Linked DNA regions of Homo sapiens: region 1 is linked to region 2. The links are contacts of gene promoters, found by promoter capture Hi-C in blood cells and fetal thymus (Javierre and others, 2016). All regions are on one chromosome and are shown on one strand. The core of a region is centred on a gene start or on the middle of the fragment in contact, and the rest is flanking DNA. Distances in the headings are between cores, read along the strand shown.

Region 1 (4,324 bases), core at 816-3,315, 120 kb before region 2:
TAGTTACTGTCTATCCTTTACAGAAAAAGGTTGCTGACCTCTGCTTTAAACAATGCTGCAACAAATATCTTTCCCCATTACTGCAAACATGTAAGTAGATCTCTCATAAATAGCCCATTTGGTCTAAGCCAATCTGAGAGACATAGCTCAAAAAGCACATTTCACCGATTTTAGTTAATTTTTCTTTTATTATAAGTGAAGTTAACTAAGCATCTTTTTAAACACATAAAAGTGTTGGGCCATGTGTGGTGGCTCACACTTGTAATCCCAGCAATTTAGGAGGCTGAGACAGGAGGATAATTTGAGCCCAGGAGTTCAAGACCAGCTGGGTAACATGGTGAGACTGCTATCTCTACTAAAACTACTACCCAGGCGGGGTGTGGTGGCTCACGCCTGTAATCCCAGCATTCTGGGAGGCGGAGGCAGGAGGATCACTTGAGGTCAGGAGTTCAAGACCAGCCTGGCCAACATGGCAAAACTCCGTCCCTACTAAAAATACAAAAATTAGCCAGATGTAGTGGCGGGCACCTGTAATCCCAGCAACTCAGGAGGCTGAGGCAGGAGAATCGCTTGAACCCAGGAGGTGGAGGTTTCAGTGAGCCGAGATTGTGTCACTGCACTCTAGCCTGAGTGACAAGAGCGAAACTCCATCTCAAAAATAAAATAAAATAAAATAAAATAACTACCCGGTGTGGTAGCACATGCCTGTAGTCCCAGCTACTAGGGAGGCTGAGGCAGGAGGATTGCTTGAATCTGGAAAGTCAAAGCTTCAATTAGTCATGATTGTTCCACTGCACTCCAGCCTGGGTGACAAAGTGAGACCCTGTCTCAAAAAAAAAATTATATACATATATTTATATGTGTGTGTATATATATATATCATGTGTGTGTTTCCTCTTTTCTGTAAAATGTTTTTTTCAATTTGATAAAGAATATGGGCCAGGTGTGGCGGCTCACGCCTGTAAACCCAGCACTTTGGGAGGCCACGGTGGGTGGATCACTTGAGCCCAGAAGTTCGAGATAAGCCTGGGCAACATAGCGAGATCCTATCTCTACAAAAAGTTTAAAAATTAGCCAGGCATGGCTGGGTGCGGTGGCTCACACCTGTAATCTCAGCACTTTGGGAGGCTGAGGTGGGTGGATCACAAGGCCAGGAGATCGAGACCATCCTGGCTAACACGGTGAAACCCCGTCTCTGCTAAAAATACAAAAAATTAGCGGGGCATGGTGGCGGGAGCCTGTAGTCCCAGCTACTTGGGAGGCTGAGGCAGGAGAATGGTGTGAACCCAGGAGGCGGAGCTTGCAGTGAGCCGAGATCGCAACACTGCACTCCAGCCTGGGCGACAGACTCTGTCTCAAAAAAAAAAAAAAAAAAAAATTAGCCAGGTGTGGTGGTGCGTGCCTGTAGTCCTGGCTACTCAGGAGGCTGAGGTGGGAGGATCACCTGAGCCTGGAAGGTTGAAGCTGCAATGAACTGTGATCATGCCACTGCACTCCAGCCTGAGCAACAGAGTGAGACCCTGTCTCCAAAAAAAACAAAAAATATGAGCAAAAGTATTTTTCTTATTGCTTTACAAAAACAAGGGGGAATTAGCATTTTGTGTCTTGCATCCAAATGTTTTCTCCATTTGTTACTTGACTGACTTTTTTTTTTTTTTTTTTTCATGTAATAATGCTCACCTTGTCAGTGAAGGGAAGGTGGGTCCAGGTGCTGACAGTGAAGGGGATGGGGGACCTTGGCCAGGCAGACAATACTTGTTTCTGGATCCCCTACCTTGTTCCCAGCCCTGTCCCAGGCACTGGGGTCCAGCGGTGAGTGAGGCGGGCGGAGGCTCTGCCATCATGGCAGTGATGGGTAAGCAGGGCAGTACTAAGCGCAGGTGTTACAGGGACACCTCCCCAGCTGGACCTGAAGAATGAAGAGGGACTACCCAGGGGTCCGGGCTGCAGCGGGAGGATTCTGAGCAATAACTCGTACAAGGTTAGATCTTGGAGAGACAGAGGTTTCAGAGTGCAGGTTCTTGGAGCCTAAGCTCTACTGAGTGGTGATGAAGCACCTGGTATGGCCACACATGAAAGGCAAGGACAGGAGTCCCAGGAGTCTCGTCAAGTCTCTGAGGTGCACAGAAAGCTGCCCTGTGAGGGTCTAGAGAGTTTCACCTCTTTGTATGGAGGAGCAAAGTACCTCTCAGGGCTGCAGCTACCCTGCCAACAGACTTAAACTAGGGTCTGAGGGTTTAGAATTGGCCAGGGCGGAGGTGAAGCATTGCTCCGCACCAGGAACAGCAAAGGGCGTGAGGACAAGTCTGGCCTCTCTTGCAACGAAGACCTCTCCCTGCCCTTCCACAGCCCTAGCCTCCACTTCAGTTCTACCTCTCCAGAGTATCAAAGGGAGAGACAACTATGCCTGCAAAGACCAAGCGGCAGCCTGGGAGGGGAGGAGGGGGCTGGAGGGAGATGTGGCTAGAGGGTGAGACCAGCCCCTCAGGCCTTTAACATCAGGCTAAGCCAGCAGCCTACCAGCTGCTCCCCTGCCCAAAGCACCACCCCCAGAGCTCCCTGCAGGCGATGACAAGGATGAAGTGGGGAGGCAGGGGGAGAGTCAAGAGCTCACAAAGGTTCTGCTGTGCTTGACCAGGGCCTCCGCCAGAGCCAGATTGTTTGCTTGCTTGGAGGGAAGGATCTGATTTAAAAAGGTGGTGGCCCTGGGGTTCAGGGCCAGGCCTGCTGGCTGCCATCCTACACAGCAGCCCCACTCCAAACTCTCCATCCTGGGGCCCCCTCATTCCTCTTTACTTTGGTGTTCCCAGTTAGACCCAAGTAGGACTCCACAGCTTTGGGCAGAGGACTTACAAAGCAGCAGGGGCCAGTGCTCACACTTGGGACTCTAGATCACTGGGGGACCTGCAGGACCAGCCTGCTGGGGACTTCATGGAGAAGGAGGTGCGTGGAGGTGGCCCTTCACTGAGCACCTGCTGTATGCTGGGCATTGGGCAGGGCACTTCGTTTATGGGGTTCCCTTTTCATCCTTTAAGCAACAGTAGGTATTATTGTCTCCATTTTACAGACAAGAAAAGAGAGTCCTAGAAAGGCTAAGGGGACTCGCCCAGGTTTACACAGTGAGTCAGTGGTAGGGCTAGAATTCTAACTCAGGTTGGCCCCACCTGTGAATCTAATCTGTGCTTAACCCCTACACTGCTTTGTGCAGGACATAACCCTGTCTTGCACATGTCTGGCACAGAGTGAAGGTCCCATCATGTTGACTTTATCATGCACTTTCTCAGCTGGAGCTGTGGGCCTCACAGCAGCCCTTCGGGGTCAGTAATGCTTCTCTCGCTTTCATGATGTGGAGGCTCAAGCTTGCAGAAGTTGAGCAACTTGCCCAGGGTCACACAGCTAGTCGCAGAGGGTCAGGGAAGTCGGGGAAGTTCAAAGAAATGTGGAGTAGAGTGGGTTTGCCCAAGGAATGACAGGAATGTTCAAGGAACTGAAAGCTGGAAGTGTCTGCGGAAGCTGCAGATCTGCCGGCAAGCAGTGGGGCTGCTTATGGAGTAGTGAGCCCAGGCCCTGGAGCGGGGTCCTGGGGGACTCTCACTCAGCAGAAGAGCAGCCATCAGACACCTGGGCTTGGGACGCCTGCCTGGTCCCTTGTGTTACTTGGAAATGTCAGCAAGAAGGGCCCTTCACCGGGCATGTTTCTCTTCTGTCAGATGAGGGCTGTTAAATGAGGTCTTTGATTTTACTGTTCAGCAGTGGCATCTTTCTTTAAAATAGTCTTGGCCAGGCATGGTGGCTCACACCTGTAATCCCAGCACTTTGGGAGGCTGAGGCAGGTGGATCACCTGAGGTCAGGAGTTCGAGACCAGCCTGGCCAACATGGTGAAACCCCCGTCTCTACCAAAAATACAAAAATTAGCAGGGCATGGTGGCGTGTGCCTATAGTCCCAGCTACTCTGGAGGTTGAGGCAGGAGAATCGCTTAAACCCAGGAGGTGGAGGTTGCAGCGAGCCGAGATCGCGCCACTGCACTCCAGTCTGGGTGACAGAGTGAGACTCTGTCTCAAAAAAAAAAAAAAGTCTTAAGCTGAACTTTATTCATTCGCCCATTCAACAAATATTGAGACTTTCAAGGCACCTGAAACATATGGTTGACCAGACTTCTTCCTGCTTTGAGTGTCTCTGACTTGTGTTACAGAAATTAAGGGTCCCTACCCCTCCACTCAGGGTAGGAATGGGGCCACCTGGGCTGCTATGGGCCCATGCCCTCATTTGGGAGCTCCTTAACCATGGTGCTCCTCTGAAAGGTTCCCTGTCAGAGCTGAGTA
Region 2 (4,398 bases), core at 1,724-4,223:
CCGCGCGGACAATCGGCCCCGGTGCACGGTGCCCGTGGGGCGTCGGGGTAGGGGGGACCCCGCAAGTCCTCGCCGGGCCGGCGTGGCCTGGTCCCAGCGGCCGGCTTTCCAGAGTCCTCCACAGACCGGGCCTATGACCATCTGTTGGCGGCGCTGGGCTGCGGCGCTGCGCTCGTGGTGTTCTCCCTGTGCACAGCCCCAGGCGGCCGCCTCCCGGGCCCGCTGCAGGCAGGGTAGCTCGGACCAACTTCGAGGAGGTGACCGCTCGCTCTCCAAAGGTGCTACGCCTGGCGCGGCCCACTACGCGCCCGGCCCCAAGCAAGGGGCCGGGCAGGTCAGGGCGGCCCACGGCAAGTGTCCTATAGAACGACCAGGACACAGGGGGCACTCCCTCGACACGTCGTCCCATCCCCAGACGGAGAAGCGGGGGCCCAGGAAGAGGACTTGACCCCAGCCCGCGACGCAGGAGGCAGCCGCGATTCCCCCCTCCTCGAGCCCCGGCTTAGCGCCCCCTGGCGGGCTGGGGGCTTCAGGAGGCGCGTGCACCCTGACCCGCGAGCTCAGGCGGAAGGTGACCCCGTGGCCTGCGCGGCTGTCCCGGGCGCTCGTACAAGGGACAGGAACAGTCCGTCAGGACCCAGAGGCTCGGGCCAGGCGCTGCCTCCCCGCGCGACGAGCTTGGGCGGCGGAGGGAGAGCCTTGGGACAGCCGGGGCTGCACCGAAAGAGCTGGGCGGGGCTGGAGGCCTGGGTCCCCGTCCGCTGTGCGACCTAGGGGGCTCCTCCTCTCCCTGGGAGACCAGGCTGGACACAGATCCCCCGCTGTGAGTCCGCGCGCCTCCGTCCTCTTGCAGCCCCCGCCCCCTCCCCACCCAGGAATGCCGGGTGCCTTCGGGGGGCGGCGCACTTTGGGAGAGGGGAAGACGGTGACTGGAGTTTTGATTCCCCCCTCCATATCCAGCGGATATTTTTCTCGTTCTGAGAAGTGCAAGAAACTTGCAGGACCAGGAAGACAAAGGATTTGGATACAGGCTGGGTGGGAGGACGGGACTGGGTTACACCGAGAACCCCTCTGAGACCCCCAGCCTTGACGGCATGTTTGTCGCAGGCGCCCCTGTGCTGGGCGCTAGCTGCGGGGCTCTGCGGAGGAAAAAAACTGTACGATCCAGGCTTCTCCTCGCCTTCCTGTGGGTTTTGCCGACAGGCTCCAGAAAACAGTGGGGCTTCCCATCTCTGCGTGCTGACTACCCACGCGCAGGAACGCGCCACGCAGGTGGCGTCGCGGTGCAAATAGCAGAGGGGCGCTGAGCCCCGCAGGCTGCAGGGAGACGGGGTCCTCGGGGGACGCACGGCGAAGCCCCATTCCTCGTTCTTATGGAAGGGGACACCGAGGCTGGGGTGGCTGAGGGCTTGCCCAAGCTCACAGAGCCAGATAAGAACGTCCCTTTTCTGCTCCAGCGCCCCCACTACCGTGGGCGCCTCCTTTTCCAACTCCCCAAACCCTTAGAAAGGAATCCCTTTGTCTCTGCTCCTCCCGAGGGGAGAGGGGCTGGGGCTGTGTCTGACTCCGGGCGAACGCCAGGTGTTGGTAAATTTGGGAGAAGCTGGGAAGGGAGTTAATGAGGTGAGAATGAAGTGAAGGAGAAAAAAAGCGGAGATAGCTGCTCCGCGGGCTGCGGGCGGGCGGGGCAGCCTCTCCTCCGCGGCCCGAGGGCGCCGCCTGGAGGCCAGAGGCAACACCGCGCCAGCCCCGCGAGCTTCCCCGCTTCGCTAAGGCGGGGCTGCCCAGTCCCAGCCCGCATGCTTCCACTCCCACCCTCCAAAGTGGAGCGGCTAAAGACGGACTTGGAGACTCGGAATCCTCACTGTACAAAGAGCCCTACCATCCCGTTTCCCATCCTCCCCTTCCCACACCGAGAAAGCAGGGCCCCGAGCAAGCCCCATTTCCTGATTTCGCCGGACACCCGGCTTGCCGCTCCCTAGCTGAACCCCACCTCTGTGCCTCAGTTTCCTCATCTGTGAGATGAGGCAGCGATAGTGCCTATCTCACGGGGTGCTGGGAGGAGCAGATGCGATCGTGTTAGGGAACTTTTTTTGTTTGTCTGTTTGTTTGAGACGGAGTTTCGCTCTTGTCGCCCAGGCTAGAGTGCAGTGGCGCAATCTCCGCTCGCTGCAACCTCCGCCTCCCGGGTTCAAGCGGTTCTCCTGCCTCAGCCTCCCGAGTAGCTGGGATTACAGGCGCCCGCCACCACGCCCGGCTAATTTTTTGTATTCGTAGTAGAGACGGGGTTTTGCCATGTTGGGCAGGCTGGTCTCGAGCTCCTGACCTCAGGTGACCCGCCCGCCTCGACCTCCCAAAGTGCTGGGATTACAGGCGTGAGCCACCCTGCCCGGCCAGGGAACGTTCTTTATAAAAGCGGAATTGTGCCCGAATTGCCCCAGCTTACTGAGGAGGTAAACTGAAACACGTTTGGGAAGGAGAATTGCCGAGGCCCTATTAACTAATGCTCAATATTGCAGGGATAAGCCCCAGCTCCGGGTCCTCGACTCTGCTGCCTCGCCTGGACTCCTGATTCCTCATTCCTCTCCTTTCCGTCCCAGGTTGCGTCTGTCCGGGTTTCCCCCTCTGTCTCCGTGGCTCTCAGCCTTGTCCTCTGAGCGTCCTTCTCCCTCTCGCTGTGTCTGCCCGGTCTCTCCTGGGTCTCCGGTTCTGCCGCCTCCTGTCCCTCCTTCCGGCTGCCCCGGCCAGAGGGGCTCGAAGGCGCGTTGGGGCCCGGGGCCACGCTGGGAGACACGCCTTCGGCCGCGCCTAATTCGAGCCAGGCGCGGGACGCGTCCCCCGGCCGGGCGGAGCGGGAGGGGACGCCCGCCGCGCTCGGCCTCCCCGGGCCCCGACCCCTCCTTTGTAATTTGAATAAAACGCCTCCCCCGCCCGCGCGCCGCCTTAACCCGCCGCCTCCGCTCTCCCCGGCTGCAGGCGGCGTGCAGGACCAGCGGCGGCCGTGCAGGCGGAGGACTTCGGCGCGGCTCCTCCTGGGTGTGACCCCGGGCGCGCCCGCCGCGCGACGATGAGGGCGCGGCCGCAGGTCTGCGAGGCGCTGCTCTTCGCCCTGGCGCTCCAGACCGGCGTGTGCTATGGCATCAAGTGGCTGTGAGTAGGGACCCCGCGTCCACGCGCACAGGCCAGGGACTGGGGCGGCGGAGGGCGTTTTGGGGTCCCCTGGATGGGGCGAGCGCACCAAGACCCGGGAGCCTAAGCTGGCTTGGCGGTCGTGGGCAAGTCATCCCTCAGCCTCTGTTTCCTCCTCTGTAAAATGTCCCTGCCTCCCGCAGGCTTGCGAAAAGGGAGTGAGACGGGCGTGGACCACAATGGAAGCGCCTGGTCCTGTGCAGCTGACGGTGGCGCAAGGGCCACGGAGTTTCTGGCCACCTCCGCAGGGGCAGATGGAAAAAGACATTCTGTTCAGGGGGCGCAATCCAGAGCGGCCAGCCCAGGAGCGGTCCTTGTCCGTCAGTCTCCTTGACCCTAGCGGGAGTTCCGCTGAGACACTCCTGACCCCTCCACCTGGGCGACCTTGGGAAAGTGTCACTCTACTTCTTGGGGCCTCCTTGTCCTCCTCTGTCACGGGAGGGTGAGACTCCCCACCTCCCTCAAATCAGATGAGAAGAGGCTCCTGAAAGGACCTCAGAAGCTGTCAGATGCCACTGTGCACATGTGCAGGGCATTCCTTTAGATAGAAATTATTCACGCAGGGGTAGGAGGGAGAGAGAGGCTTGGTGCCGAGCTGAAGGGAGTGCCTGCTCAGGGGGCTGGGGGTGGTGAAGAGAGGAGTAAACACCAGCCCCTTCCCGGAGGAGCTGCGCTCTAAGTTGAGAGAGATAAGCCCAGGCTGTAAATAACTCCACAAGTGTCCAAGTGCCCGAGGAGAAACCAGAGCGGGAATCTGGAGGCCTAGAGGAAGGAAGCCCACCTGGTGGGGACACAGATGTGAGACACCGGGAAGCTTTTCCGAGGCTGTGCCTCTGGTGACTGAAGCGCTGCTGGGAGTTGGCTGGTTCGGGCAATGGAGAGGACGCTGTGGGCAGAGGGGCTCCCTGAGAGGGAAAGTCCAGGACAGGACAAGGGTCTGGAATCTGGGGCCAGGGCAGGGAGCCTGCAGATAAGACAGCAGGGGGCAGGTTGTGGGGGCTGGGGAGGGCGCTGCAAAGGGTTTGTGAATTAGTTGGAAGACAGGGTGATAGTGGCTGCGCCGCCAGCAAACAGTCTGGAGGTCACTGGCCCTGCCCCTTCTCAGGCCAAGTTATTGATTAATTGACGATTCGAGGAGGGAACCCCGTCTTCCTGCCTTTCTTGTTTACAAGAAGCCTGGTCTCAGCAATCTCCCAGCCCTGGGCACTA

What was found. The method cuts DNA at HindIII sites, captures the fragments that hold promoters and counts their contacts. A CHiCAGO score of 5 or more calls a contact.
Region 1: a contact is called between a fragment that was not itself captured here and the fragment with the promoter of WNT11 in region 2, in 8 of 17 cell types (non-activated CD4 T cells, naive CD8 T cells, naive CD4 T cells and 5 more). The highest score is 8.5, in non-activated CD4 T cells.

What each region holds. Positions count from the first base shown.
Region 1 is chr11:76,328,374-76,332,697 of GRCh38, reverse strand. No RefSeq gene overlaps it. Among named protein-coding and RNA genes, the nearest start is that of THAP12, 51 kb to the left of the region's middle. The HindIII fragment of the contact is 2,592 bases long and covers 770-3,361 here.
Region 2 is chr11:76,205,077-76,209,474 of GRCh38, reverse strand. It overlaps WNT11 (Wnt family member 11), which reads left to right and starts at 2,973. Exons shown (of 5, transcript NM_004626.3): 1 at 2,973-3,150. The coding sequence starts at 3,068. RefSeq lists enhancers at 180-229, 1-514, 1,849-2,516 and silencers at 1,621-1,840, 2,821-3,060. The HindIII fragment of the contact is 7,460 bases long and covers 1-4,005 here.